Regions from separate parts of the Homo sapiens genome. Here all the other regions are linked to region 1. The links are contacts of gene promoters, found by promoter capture Hi-C in blood cells and fetal thymus (Javierre and others, 2016). All regions are on one chromosome and are shown on one strand. The core of a region is centred on a gene start or on the middle of the fragment in contact, and the rest is flanking DNA. Distances in the headings are between cores, read along the strand shown. Region 1 holds the start of FBXL17 (F-box and leucine rich repeat protein 17). Region 2 overlaps MAN2A1 (mannosidase alpha class 2A member 1). Region 3 overlaps PJA2 (praja ring finger ubiquitin ligase 2). Region 4 overlaps LOC105379117 (a long non-coding RNA gene). Region 5 overlaps LOC105379117 (a long non-coding RNA gene).

What was found. Contacts are between HindIII fragments. The CHiCAGO score rates a contact against its expected background, and 5 or more counts as called.
Region 2: a fragment that was not itself captured here is called in contact with the fragment with the promoter of FBXL17 in region 1 in 1 of 17 cell types (total B cells); the score reaches 8.4 in total B cells.
Region 3: a fragment that was not itself captured here is called in contact with the fragment with the promoter of FBXL17 in region 1 in 1 of 17 cell types (naive CD4 T cells); the score reaches 6.5 in naive CD4 T cells.
Region 4: a contact is called between a fragment that was not itself captured here and the fragment with the promoter of FBXL17 in region 1, in 1 of 17 cell types (monocytes). The highest score is 5.3, in monocytes.
Region 5: a contact is called between a fragment that was not itself captured here and the fragment with the promoter of FBXL17 in region 1, in 1 of 17 cell types (total B cells). The highest score is 5.2, in total B cells.

What each region holds. Positions count from the first base shown.
Region 1 is chr5:108,380,697-108,383,396 of GRCh38, reverse strand. FBXL17 (F-box and leucine rich repeat protein 17) reads left to right here and starts at 1,299. Exons shown (of 9, transcript NM_001163315.3): 1 at 1,299-2,698. The coding sequence starts at 1,706. RefSeq lists an enhancer at 929-1,048 and silencers at 1,149-1,398, 1,599-2,348, 2,369-2,448. The HindIII fragment of the contact is 13,285 bases long and covers 1-2,700 here.
Region 2 is chr5:109,700,261-109,702,960 of GRCh38, reverse strand. The region is part of intron 1 of MAN2A1 (mannosidase alpha class 2A member 1); the gene reads right to left. Among named protein-coding and RNA genes, the nearest start is that of MAN2A1-DT, 11 kb to the right of the region's middle. The HindIII fragment of the contact is 492 bases long and covers 1,205-1,696 here.
Region 3 is chr5:109,383,158-109,385,857 of GRCh38, reverse strand. It overlaps PJA2 (praja ring finger ubiquitin ligase 2), which reads left to right. Exons shown (of 10, transcript NM_014819.5): 2 at 2,338-2,455. The coding sequence starts at 2,425. Among named protein-coding and RNA genes, the nearest start is that of PJA2, 25 kb to the left of the region's middle. The HindIII fragment of the contact is 2,699 bases long and covers 1-2,600 here.
Region 4 is chr5:109,476,033-109,478,732 of GRCh38, reverse strand. All of the region lies in intron 4 of LOC105379117 (a long non-coding RNA gene), which reads right to left. Among named protein-coding and RNA genes, the nearest start is that of PJA2, 67 kb to the right of the region's middle. The HindIII fragment of the contact is 5,589 bases long and covers 1-2,700 here.
Region 5 is chr5:109,498,626-109,501,325 of GRCh38, reverse strand. All of the region lies in intron 4 of LOC105379117 (a long non-coding RNA gene), which reads right to left. Among named protein-coding and RNA genes, the nearest start is that of PJA2, 90 kb to the right of the region's middle. The HindIII fragment of the contact is 1,476 bases long and covers 572-2,047 here.

The DNA.
Region 1 (2,700 bases), core at 50-2,549:
TAGTGGGAATAGCAATGTAGGTTCCAACAGTGGTCTTCTCCAAGCCACTGGGCCTTGAATATTGCAATACTTCTTCCTCAGTCAGCTCTCTCAAGTTATCCTTAGCAGATTTTTTTTTAAACACCTGCCACTTCTCTTCCACCCTTCAGCAGGTAACCAAGCTCTATCTGAAGCAAAACAGAAACCAACAGAAAGGAACTCTTTCACCTTCCTGCTAGAAACATCCACCTCTCTGTATCCGTCCTTTATCTACCTTTCCTCATTCTCTGTAATCACAATGAAGAAAGTATCCTTCCTAAAGCACTCTCCATTCCACCTTCTCCTCTTATTTCTCTCACTAGAGTGGCTCATTCCCATGGTATTTGCCTCCTCTAATTTTTCGCTTGTGAAAGCTAACCTCTCCGCACCAGGTACCGCTCTAGCAGCTGCCCTAGCTCTTTAGCCTCGATATAGTCAAACCTTCTAAAGGACTGCCTGCATAGCTGTTTCCTCTTTCTCATCTGGATCACCAACGTTTGTCATATAGCAGGCACTGCACCGTCATGTTTAAAATATACAACAGACGGCTAGACAGGATTCCGAGGGTGTAGACAATAAAGTGATCTACAGTTTGTAGCCTGGGTGTTGAATGGCTCACTGGGTGGGGAAGCTGTTATCTTTCTGCTGTGCACAGGTAATTTGATATATGCTTTCATTCTGAAATAAAGTTGTGGAAAGGCAGTAGTACGCAACAATTAAGAAAACACAAGTGGGTAAACAGTGGTGCCGCACAACCAATCAACCCCTCACATGACTTCGGTGCGCATCACCCAGGGGCCGCATCTGCCACTCTGCCCGAAGCGCGGTCAGCGCCCACACTGGCCCTTCCGGCGGAACCCGCCTCGCGGCTTCGAAGTGGCCTCGGTTTCCGAGTCAGGGGTGGTGACAGGGGTGGAAGGTGAGGGGAAGAGCCCAGCGGCTCCCGGCCAATGGCAGCTCTTGAACTTACACCTCGAGACGTCAGCGCGGCTGTGTAAACGGATGTCACACAGCTGGCTCGGAAGTGTCTCCTCCCGCCTCAGAAACGCGGCGCACGCCCAGCAGCTTCGGAAAAACCTTAGGCGGTGGGAGGGAGGGGCGTGCGCCGCACCCCGCAAGCCCAGAGCTCCGTGCCCTAGCCGGCCGGCTTCTTCCCGTAGTGCCGGTGTGACGGCCGTCCCGGGTGAGCAGCCGGGTGCCGGCGTCCCCGCCACGAGCGCGCCACCGCAACTGGCTCCGCCCCCTGCCGGAACGGGCCGCGCGCTCCTGCGGCTCCGAGCAGAGTCGCGGGTGCGCGCGCCGGCGGCGGATCCGCAGTTAAAATGGTCCGAGCGGGACCCGGCCTTTCCCCGGCCGCTCCGCTGACTGACTGAGCCGGCTGGCCGGGCCCGGACTGGTCGCCTAGCCGGCAGGCTCGCTCGCTCCCTCCCTCGCGTCCCCAAAGCTCGCGCCCATCGTTCTCCCGGCTTCCCTGGGCAAAGCATGTAGCCCCCGTCGGGCACTCCGGCGGCCCGCAGCTGACGCCCACCCCCCACCGTCGCGTGTGTGCCCGTGTGTGCGTGTGTGTGCGCAGGAAGGGCGACCCCTCCGGGGGCCGAGCCAGCGAGCGGCCTGCCCCGCTGCCGGGAGCCCGCCTCTCTGGGTCTCCCTCCCTCCCGTCCCGGTCCCCCTCCTCGGGGCCTTCTATATGGGCCACCTTCTCTCGAAGGAGCCGCGTAACCGCCCGAGCCAGAAGAGGCCTCGCTGTTGCAGTTGGTGCCGCCGCCGGCGCCCTCTCCTCAGGCTGCCCCGCCGGACCCCAGCCAAGGTGCCCCCTCAGCCGGCGGCGCCCCGGAGCCGGGACTGCTTCTTCCGCGGGCCCTGCATGCTCTGCTTCATCGTGCACAGTCCCGGCGCGCCCGCCCCCGCCGGCCCAGAGGAGGAGCCGCCGCTCTCGCCGCCGCCGCGGGACGGGGCCTACGCTGCCGCCTCCTCCTCTCAGCACCTGGCGCGGCGCTACGCGGCCCTGGCCGCCGAGGACTGCGCCGCTGCTGCCCGCCGCTTCCTGCTATCCTCGGCCGCCGCCGCCGCCGCCGCTGCCGCCTCGGCTTCGTCGCCCGCCTCCTGCTGCAAAGAGTTGGGGCTGGCTGCGGCCGCCGCCTGGGAGCAGCAGGGCCGAAGTCTCTTCCTGGCCAGCTTGGGGCCGGTGCGCTTCCTGGGGCCGCCCGCCGCCGTGCAGCTCTTCCGGGGGCCGACACCGTCACCGGCCGAGCTCCCTACGCCCCCCGAAATGGTGTGCAAGCGGAAGGGGGCCGGGGTCCCCGCCTGCACCCCCTGCAAGCAGCCCCGCTGCGGCGGCGGGGGCTGCGGCGGCGGCGGCGGCGGCGGTGGCGGGGGAGGGCCTGCGGGGGGAGGCGCTTCGCCGCCCCGGCCCCCCGACGCCGGCTGCTGCCAGGCCCCGGAGCAGCCCCCGCAGCCGCTCTGCCCTCCGCCCTCTTCTCCCACCTCCGAAGGTGCCCCCACCGAAGCTGGCGGGGACGCTGTCCGAGCCGGGGGCACCGCCCCCTTGTCCGCCCAGCAGCAGCATGAATGTGGCGACGCGGACTGTCGGGAGTCCCCCGAAAACCCCTGCGACTGTCACAGGGAGCCGCCCCCCGAAACCCCAGACATCAACCAGCTGCCGCCGTCCATCCTGCTCAAGGT
Region 2 (2,700 bases), core at 201-2,700, 1.3 Mb before region 1:
ATAAATTCTGAATTTCCAAACTACTCTTTATACAAGCACTACAGACTCTAAAGTTTTACAAATTCTTTCCTATTGCCTTTCTTTATAAAAATCCATCTGTAACAACTGGTCTACAAGGGCAAGGTGAGACACAGAAGCAACAAATGCAGTAGTAAGACATAACATAATACATAAAAATACATTAATAGCAAACTTCTAAATATCATACCATTGGTTATCAAAGATGAGTTAAGGATACAAATTTCTGGAGTTCTTCTCAAATCTCTTTTGTTTAAAACAATTATTGGTTGGATCTTCTACCTAAAAGTAGCAAGAAATATCCTATACATCAAGTGTTGTTATTTGACCCTACAAATTTTCCAGAGGTAGCCCAGGGTCAAAGACAGTTTTTACTTCTCCAGTTCATGGGGTCACCTACCAGCCCAACAGAAGGGAGTTTTTCTTTACTATCAACAAGAGGCAGTTTGGAGGGTATTCTCAGAAATCTGTCTGACTTTCAGAACAACTTTCAAACTTCAGCCCCCTATTTGGGGTGTTGCATTTTGATCCTTAATAAATCTCTCTCTCCCTCTCCACCACCGGGCTGCCCATCCTCCCTACACACACAGACACACACACACACACACACACACACACACACACACAATTTATGTTCTGTCTTAACCCAGAAAAAAAATAATTTAGTCTTATCATTTGTGCCAAAGATGAGAAGGGTCTTTTTTAAACTCTACTAAAACGCTTCTTTGAAATCCTTCCTTCTGATCATCTTATCTTTTCTTAGGTAAGCTGATCCATGAGCTGCTGGTTTCTGACAATTTGAACACAAGCTGCTTTATTTCATTAACATCTGCTACAAAATATTCTTAATGTAAGATGTGCAGCTTTTGGTTATCAGAAATGTACTTGGCCCTGCCCTCACTAAGCACAGTCCCCAAGTGAGCTCATTCATTCTCGGCTATGCTGATGACTACCAGATCAGCATCTCCCTTCCCTGATCTCTCACTGGCTTTCCAGCCCACTTGATTATTTCCACTAACATCCACGTCATCATAAATGAAATGAACTTGACTTTCCAGATCAGCTTGTCCCTATCTCCTTCTGCAAATAGTACAACCAGTCTCCAACACCCCAATGGAAAAAGGTAGGAGAAATTTTCTGATTCAAGCCACTCATCATTACCCTTGATCAAACCTGTTAAAAAGCTTTGGTCTTTCTCTTTACAAAATGTCTCCACATTTTTCATCCTCCCGATTCTAGCCAATTCAATACTGGTACAGGGATTTACTGCCTTATGTCTATATTACCTCAAACAGATTCTCAGCTGCCTTCCTACTTGAATCTTCCTACACACAGCTACCAGAATAATCTAGATTGAATATTCTCTTAGCTCCTTTCCAGGTCTGAAATTTTCTACAAAATTAATTCTCTCACACTGCTTTTCTCAAGCAGCTTCCTGGTATATTCAATAACTTGGAGTGATTCACTACCATCTAACTCATAACTCTTCAGACAAACTCTCAGGGCAATTTGCAATCTGATCCTGAACTACCTACAGTGTTTTCCCAACTACTCTTCACAGGCACCAAAGATTCTAAATCAAGCCAATCTCCTCCAGGATTCAAAGCCTTCATAAGCACCGTACTTTACACTAGCAATTTTCTTTCTCCCTTCAAAGTATCGTCCCATAGGGAAAGCTTAGCTTCTTTACCCTCTCCTTTAGTCAACTTAAGCCAGGCCATCACCAAAACTTGTTTCTGTTTTTGAGTTCTCTTTAAGGCCTTTGTCTTTATATCAGGAATGTAAAATAATATCATTGACTCTTGTTTTAGTCTTAGCTCCTGTATTCCCAGAACCTAGAACAGTGCCTGCTACATAATAGGTATGCTACAAATCTCTGTCCATTGGTAACAACTAGCATTTACTGAGCACTTACTATATGCCAGGCAACATTCTAACCTCTTTAACTTCTAATGAATAATAGCACTTAACTGGCTCTAATAGTTTCACAAACGGCAGTTTTGTTTCCCTAAATAACTAAAAAGTTCTTTCAAAACAAGTAACATATGTCTACCACAATTTCCATATTACCTAACCCAGTAAATTTTCAAATATATGTTGGATATGGGTATAGTACAGTGGAAGGCCAGTGAATTATAAGTCAGGATGCATGTCCCAGGTATCCTGTGACTGGGCAAATTGCTGAGGTCTAGTTTATGTGTGACTCGGTGCCCTTATCTGAAAAATCAAAGACTAAAAATTACCTGACCTGGAAGGACCCAGCCTACTCTACAATTCTGTGCCTGAATTTTTCATGACTTTTCTGGAATGCTGGTGACTGTTAAAAGAATGACTGCTTCACTGGATTCTAAAAACACCAATTCAGGACTTTATGTAGAAAATGATTCTAAGAATGATTCACATTCTCAGTCTTCAATGTTCCGATGCTCTACAGGTAAAATGTTACCACCAAGGCCAGGACCCATAAATGCCACATTCCTCTACATCTGTGGTATGAAGAAACAGAAGGGAACTGCTGCAAAGTACATCTTCAGCCCCGAAGTCCTCACCCTGAAGGGAAAGGCTTCTCATCACAAAGGAAACAAAGCACTATCAGTTCTAGAAGAAGCATGGCAGTTTGAGGAAACAGTAATTGTGAACGACCAAAAAAAAAAAAAAAAACCGGCAAAACTTCATACTTTC
Region 3 (2,700 bases), core at 2-2,501, 1.0 Mb before region 1:
GGATGTCATCCCCACGATATCTCATTATGTATATGCAAATATTCAAAGATTTGAAAAAATCCCAAATCCGCACTTCTGGTTCCAAGCATTTTGGAAAAGGGATACTCAATCTCTGCTTCTTTTTCCCTGGCCTCTTCATATTTGATTTTCTCAGGGCTTAACTTCACTTCTCCATGTACACCTAGAGATCTCATCCAAGTTCATACCTGTTTTGGTATAATCTATACACTGACAACTCCCAAATTATACTAACAGCTCATAATTCTTCAGTCAACACCAGACTCCTATTTAATATTTCCATTTGAATGTCTAATAGATATCTCAAACTTAACTCATCCAAAACTGAACTGAATATATTTTCTTCAAATCTGGCTCTTCCACAATTTTTCCTACATTAATTGAAATTTACTCCATTTTTCCCATTGCCCAGCCTGTAAAACCTGGAGTCAACCTCGACCTTCTTTCATATCCTATATTAGTAAATTTTGTTGATTGTATTTTTACAATATGTCCAGAATCTGGTCATTTCTTACCATCTTTATTTTAACCCTGGTCCAAACCACTATGATCTCTTACCAGTATTATTTTGATAGCTTTTTAACAGTGCTCCCTGCTTTAGACCTCATTCCTCTTCATGCTATTCAATACAGTAGCCAGAGCATTCTTCTTAAAACAGAAGTCAAATATCTCTTCTGTGGTCAGAACTTTGATGGTTTTCCATCTCAGAATAAAACGCACATTTCAGCCAGGCACTGTGGCTCATGCCTGTAATCCCAGCACTTTGGGTGGCCAAGGCAGGTGGATCACGTGGTCAGGAGTTTGAGACCAGCCTGACCAATATGGTGAAACCCTGTCTCTACTAAAAATACAAAAATTAGCCGGGCATGGTGGCACACGCCTACAGTCCCAGCTACTGGGAGGCTGAGGCAGGAGAATCACTTGAACCCGTGAGGTGGAAGTTGCAGTGAGCCGAGATCAAGCCCCTGCACTCCAGCCTGGGCGACAGAGCAAGACTCGCCCTCAAAAAAAAAAAAGTTAAAACACTGTTAATTAGCACCTATGTTTTTGCCAGTATGTTAAGATTATTATTATTTTTATATTCCTTTTCTCTTTAGCTGTTGCTAACAGCCTCTTTTGATTCAGATACTTTAAAGGATCATAACTTGTTACTGAATTTATAAATTATATGGGTGAATGTGGGTTTGTACTCTTACGTATGTTAATATATATCTGTCTGTGATTAGACAGGTAACATATAAATTAAACTCATTTGCAGAGCTATTGCATTAATGATGAGCAATTAGCAGTAGCTCAAGTGTTTAAATAAATAAGGTGTTTAAATAAAAACTTAACCAAACTTTCAAAAAAACCACAGGTTGCAACTTCTCAAATAGTACTTTTCAAATAGTAAATAAATGCATTAATTTCAAAACAGAAGTTCTTTTTGTATTTGTTCCATGATAAATTGTAGTTTTTCCTGATTGAAAATAGGTTCTTATTTGGGATTAAATTATCTGATCAACTGACTATTGCAAAGAATAAATACATCATTATTTACACACATTAATTATTGTTATAAGCCATTACACATTTTTAAAAAATGAAGTTTGTATTCTTACAGTTACCTTTTAGCAATTCCAGGGCTAAAGGAACTTTACTGCTTGACAGAGAAGCAATGATAGCACAGTGTAGTAGACTCCCAAATAGTTTGGTTACATACCTGAGTCAGTACTTCTGATATTTTTGTTTGTTTACTTACAAATTATGTATGTGTTGTTGTCATTGACAGTCTTAAGGATGATATATACTTAGGCAAGGTTTATCAAGAGCAGATGTAAATCTGTATTTCACATAGCCATTTTGGTATTTCTGAGAGTTTTTGATTGGCTTGTCAAATTGTGTTGTATTTTTCTTGTTTTTATTTATTTTTGGGACGGGATCTCACTTTGTCACCCAGGCCTGGAGTGCAGTGGCATGATCTCGGCTCACTGCAGCCTCCACCTCCTGGGCTCAAGCAATCCTCCCACCACAGCCTCCTGAGGGACTAGAGGTGTGCACCACCACGCCTGGCTAATTTTTGTATTTCTTGCAGAGACAGACTTTCACCATGTTGGCCAGGTTGTTCTCGAATTCCTGAGCTCAAACTGATTTGCTCGCCTTGGCCTGCCAAAGTGCTGTAATCTAAGGCGGATCACAGGCATTTGCCACCATGCTGGCTACATCACATTGTATTTTTCTAAGTTTTATTATAAGACTTCACTAGGAGGAGCAGAAGTATCAGTTTTGCTATTTTTGTGCTTTTATTAATATATTGTTCAATTCATTGTTTCTTTGTAGGAATCTTCTGCGGCTTGTCCATAGTGTGAATAAAAACTAAATCACATCTATAATTCTACTGAACTGGTCACACAGACGCTGCCATATATGTCACAGTACACTGAAAAGGAGCCAGCAGGTAAGGAAAGTCAGTTCTTCTACATTGAGTACTTCTTGTTTTTTCCTCTGGGTACCTTGAGTACCAGTAAGTGACATATGATCATCTGACCTGTGGTCTTACTAAAAGGCTGGTTTTGATCCATATATTGAATATTTGTAAAGCTTAGTTTCTAATTTTTGATAGGTAAAAATAGAAATTCTGGTATTTTCTTTCCATACCCATTTAGCTTGGAAAGCTTTATGCTTTCCACTTCGGAGACTATT
Region 4 (2,700 bases), core at 178-2,677, 1.1 Mb before region 1:
TAAACCAAAAATAAATTCCAAGACAACCAAGAACTTGGATATTTTAAACCATAGCTTTAAAACTGTAAGAAGAAAATGTAGAAATTTATTGTTTTGTCTCAGGATAAGGAAGAATTTATTAAATAAGACACCAAAAGCACAAAATAAAAAGTGATAAATTTTTCCATGTTAAAACTCCTGTGTATCAAAAGATACCACAAATAAGGAAAAAAAAGACAAACAGTGGACTATAAAGAAATTATTGGAAACTTAAGTATCAAATTAATGGTAGTTGTTATTTCCAGGGAAAGAAAACATAAAAAACTTTGTTTCATTTATTTTACAAAATAAATTGTGAAATAAATAGGCAAAATGTGCAATATGTTGAGATCTGATAAAGTTGCATAACAAGTATGCATTTTTATATATTTAAAAATCTTAAATAAGATTTTACTCCAATATTCAAGTTTTATTTTTAAAGAAATAAAAATGTATTCTGACATAGCAGTTCAGCCAGCTGTCCCTAATAGCCTTACAGTGGGTTTTTTTCTTTTACAGTCACTTTTACAATGCTATCTTATCTTTATATTTAGGGAGAAATTCTTGTCAAAAATAATAAAGTGAGTCCTTTTGGGTTTTTAAAAATGATTTCTTCTAACACCTTCTCACAGGGACTAGAATTTTCATTTTGGCTTTTCCATTTGAGAAACAGTGATACCTCTGGAGGCATGCAGACTATTAAAATCGTGTGTCCAATGTCCTATTAAATCATTGCAAGTTTTTTAAAAGTATAGTTACTATTATCTGTTTGGTTATCAGAGCCACTTATTTTGCAGCTACCCTGGGCCAGTCACAAAAAATAAATTATAATTCTACCCTTTGCACAGCAAAGCTGCAGCTCTGCTGGCCAGATTTTTTTGTATCATAGTTCTTTCTCTTTCATACACACTACCTGCTATTTTTATATAACAAATTTAGGGCTCCAATATGCAAATAATTATACTACATTATATACTAAGTATAATAGAAAAAAATCTTAGCCATAGCTCTCCAGGAACTTGAATCAAGCAATAAGAACTACTTTTCTCAAATGGTTATCAGTCTTCACCAAATAATGAAATAGAGATATTTTGCCTTTAGCTTCCCAAAAATGTTACTCCAGTTACCTGAAGTCATGGGAGAAAGTTTTAGGAATTCACTTTTATTTATGAGGAAAAAAAAACTGACATTTTTATTCCTTCATACTAACCTCACCCTAAGTCAACTATCCTCTGTGTCATTGTTCCTCAAAAACCATGAAATTTATATGTGTTTTAGTAAATCAAGGGAAAATTTTAAAACATAAAGGCTAACTCTATCTCCTATCTTAGAAATTTGTGAGAAAAAGAGGCAAATGTAAGAATCACTGAGGGAAAAGATGCTTGTATGAAAGAAAATTTTCTTTTCCTTTTAAAAATTGCTTTGAGGAATTATTCACTTGCTTGAGAAGTATATTGATTTCAGTTGTTCAACTGTGGCTGAGGTTTAGGAGAACATGAGATAGATCCTTTCCTGGTTTCTGGTGTACATGATATGTTAAGTTACCATTAATGACGAGTCAAATTTGCCATTTAGACATACTCTAAAGAGTTGCCTGTGGAATTATTTATATACAATCTTTTTCTGATTATCGTAGAAAATTTGGAAAACACAGTTTAATGTTTTCACTTAGCACTGCATTGTGAACAGAACATTTTAAATAGAAGTCAATGTTTAAAAGTATTCAGATTTGAAAATTGAACCAAATGGAAAAAAAATTAAGTAAAATAATATGTGCTCCAGTCATGTTTTACTGGAATGGCTAGATATAAGGTAATTAGTCTAAGAAATTATCTACTCAATTCTGTCTTGAAAGTACTTCTCAAAAACCATTTGTCTAAGTAAAATTATCTTACATTTAAAAGCATTTAATTGTTCTTGATGCAACACATTGTTTATTAAAAATTCACTGAGAGCCAAATTGTTCTTGCTCTTCCTGACGCCTCCAACTCTTTTTGTCATAGGATTGAGGAAAACAATTATCCAACTATAGAATCATAAACAAAGATAAGTCAGGGAACAATATATTAAATTCCATGTAAAAGTGCTTTTCCCCCAAGTTCCACTAGAACCATTATTTGTCTTGTACCCTGATCCAGTGGTTGGTTGCAGCATGCATTTTCAGTGTTCATTCACTCAAATGCTGGTTTGTACCGTTTCCATTTCCTGCAAGAGTACAGACAGTTCTTGTTTGTGTCCACAATGCATTCCTGGAAATTATAACATATAGGGATCAGTGGTAACACAGACCACTCCCCACTGCCACCTGCCAGGACCAGTGTTACAACTGAGGGTCACAGAGCTAAGTATTTGTTATAAAAACAAGTAAACTGTAGCTATTTCCAGCAAACTTGCCATAAAAACAAAGATTCGACAATGAGATACAGCCATAATAATTTTAAACGTAAAATTCATAATCCACATCTTATACAGTTGTCAAGAGGCTTACATCTACATTGATTATACAATGGACAAATATACTTATAGCACAGAAAAGAAATAAAATTCTGCTATAATACGTTGACCATAATAAATTTAATAAATTCAATCAGCTTAATTTTCTCTTTTCTTTTAGAATTTCAAGGGGTAGGGTAATTGGTGTTTTTTTGGCCCAGAGCTTTTTAAAAAGAATCCCAAGGTATT
Region 5 (2,700 bases), core at 60-2,559, 1.1 Mb before region 1:
TATATAATTTCTGAATGACCTAAGTTATATTTACTGAGGACTGGAAATTCATTTTCTGAAGTGTGTGAGACAAGAGGGTTTCTGGTCTGAAAGCAAAAACATAAAATCGAATGTGTGAGCACTATATTGAAAACTGGAGGATTAAGTTGAATGTACCCATCTTCCTCCACTCAGCTCCCTATATGCTGGGTAGCCAGGCTTTTACCATCATCCAGAGAAAAGATTGACAGTCTCTGGAAAATAATACTAACCCAAAAAGAAAGTTCTAAAGATCTAACATCAGAAGTTTCTCAAGTAAATAGCCCAAGATCACCCCCACAATGAAATTCACAATCCATAAGGCCTATTTATGCAAAGTAGCCAGTGGGTATATTTCAAAATAACGAGAGGAGTGGGATTGGAACGTTCCTAACACAAATAAATGATCAATGTTTGAGGTGATGGATATCCCAATTACTCTAATTTGATCATTACACATTGTATGCTTGTATCAAAATTTCACGTGCCCTATAAAGATGTACAACTATTACGTATTCCTAAAAATCAAAAATAAAAATAAATCAAAGAAGCTTGCTTAGAGAAAAAATTGGCCAGTGAGCTAGAAAATACTATAAAATATAAACAGACAATATGTGTCAAATAAAAAATATATATAATGCATGTATAATTATATATAAAATACTGTAAAATATGAGAAGACAGCCAAGGCTTATTAGGCATTAGAAGCCAACATATAACTTGAAAGATAAAAACCAAAACAAATAGATTGAAAGCAACATAGAAAACAGAGAGTATACAGGAAAAAGAAACCTAAAAATAAAAACAAAACAGCATCAATCTACAGAGAGATAAGAGAAGATCATGCAAACAAAAACAAGAATAGGCTACTATAATAAGGAAATACTCAGATAACAAAGAGCTTTTACAAAATAAAAATGCTACAGTTAAAAACGAAAACTCAGTAGAAAACTTCTCAGGAAGCATCCAGAGAGAAGATTTAGAAAATTGTCGAAGAGTGAGAAGTGGAATAGTGATTAAAGGCATGAAAAAATGGAAGCACATGACAACAATTTTAACTCCAGGAAAAACAAAATGTTGTGCAGGAAAGGAATAGTGTTCAGAGTTTACTACAGGTCTCCACTATAAACAGAATTTACATTGTCATAATATATTGATATGTAATATTAATTTATCAAAAATTATAATATAGCTCTACTGGAGGAAGAGAATGAGAAGACTACATACGTGGAGAAGACTAGGGAAATGGAAAAAAAGGGAGCTAGATAGAGTCTCATCTTACATAGCTGGAAGCCAGTTAACAATGCCAGAAACTGAAAAATCAGCAAGAATGCTACTTGGAGTCGTGAAGCCTACATGACAATATAGTCAGTAAAAAAGATCAAAGTGATTGCTTAGGGGAAGAACAAAAACTTCAGGAGGGGTGAGGCAATACTGTGTTTCATAGCAAACGTTGTGGACAACTGGATCTTTAGAGGGTATGATTAACCTTAACAAAAATTAAAATTAAAAGAAAAAAGGATGAGGCAAGGATGAAGACAGTGACAAGCCTCAGTGGAACAGCACTCACAGGGAAGAGGAGATCTGGGTTGGTGATGGTTGGTAAAACTCTTGTCTGTCTCCAGGACCAGTATGATGCATGGCAGGAGAGAAGTGGATGCTCACATGGTGAGCAGAGATACCTGACTTAGTACAAGCCAACAGTGGGATTTAAGGATCCCTGGCTTCCAGCTGTGTCTCGTTTGTTAATTCCTGGCTCTGCCTCTGAATAGATGGATAACCTTGGACAATCTCTGTGTACCCTGACAGCCTGGATGTTTCTCATCCGTCTCATATTCTTCACAGCTGGCAGCAGAGAGCTTTGTAGAGAGTAAGTACACCGATGGTTCCTTATAGATTATTTGGATTGCTATCTTCTTTGGGAAAATGTCCCCTAAATGTAAATAAAAGGATAAAATAAATTTGTATAGAAAAACCTATTTGGAGAATGACAAAACATAGAAAGTTTCAATAATCATCCTATGAAGCTTAATACGTAATAATCTAAACATGGTAAAGCATTTTTGAAATTTCTATGTTGTAATATACTTCAAAAGCCCAACCATTTTTTAACAATTTGTGACTTTTTGAATTATAAAATATACACACTTATTATTAAAAACTTTGGAAAATACAGAAACACATACAGAATTAATGTTGATTCCACCACACAAAAATAATTATTAAAATGTTTAGGTATAAACTTTATCTCATTTACCTTTATATGCACATATGTTTTACAAATTTGTAAATATACTATAAATATTCTATAACCTGATTTTTCAATTAATATAAATACTTCTCCTTATCATTAAATGTTATTCTTACTACCATTTCAATGGCTTCACAATGTTCAAGATATATGATAATTTATTGCCGGTTATATCTCAATACTTTCCATGGTTTGCTTTTATAAATAACACAGTAGCTGAGTAAACTTGTACATAAATTTTTGCACATATCTGTTTATTTTGATGGAAAAAATTCCCACTCGTAGAATTTCTGGAAAAAAGAGAATGTATATTTTTTAAAACTCTTGATATTTAACTACCAAAATATGTCTCCAGTTGACACATTCATCCACAGCCTGCATTTAATACTTTTTAAAATGAACAAATAATTGTACACATTTATGAGACACAA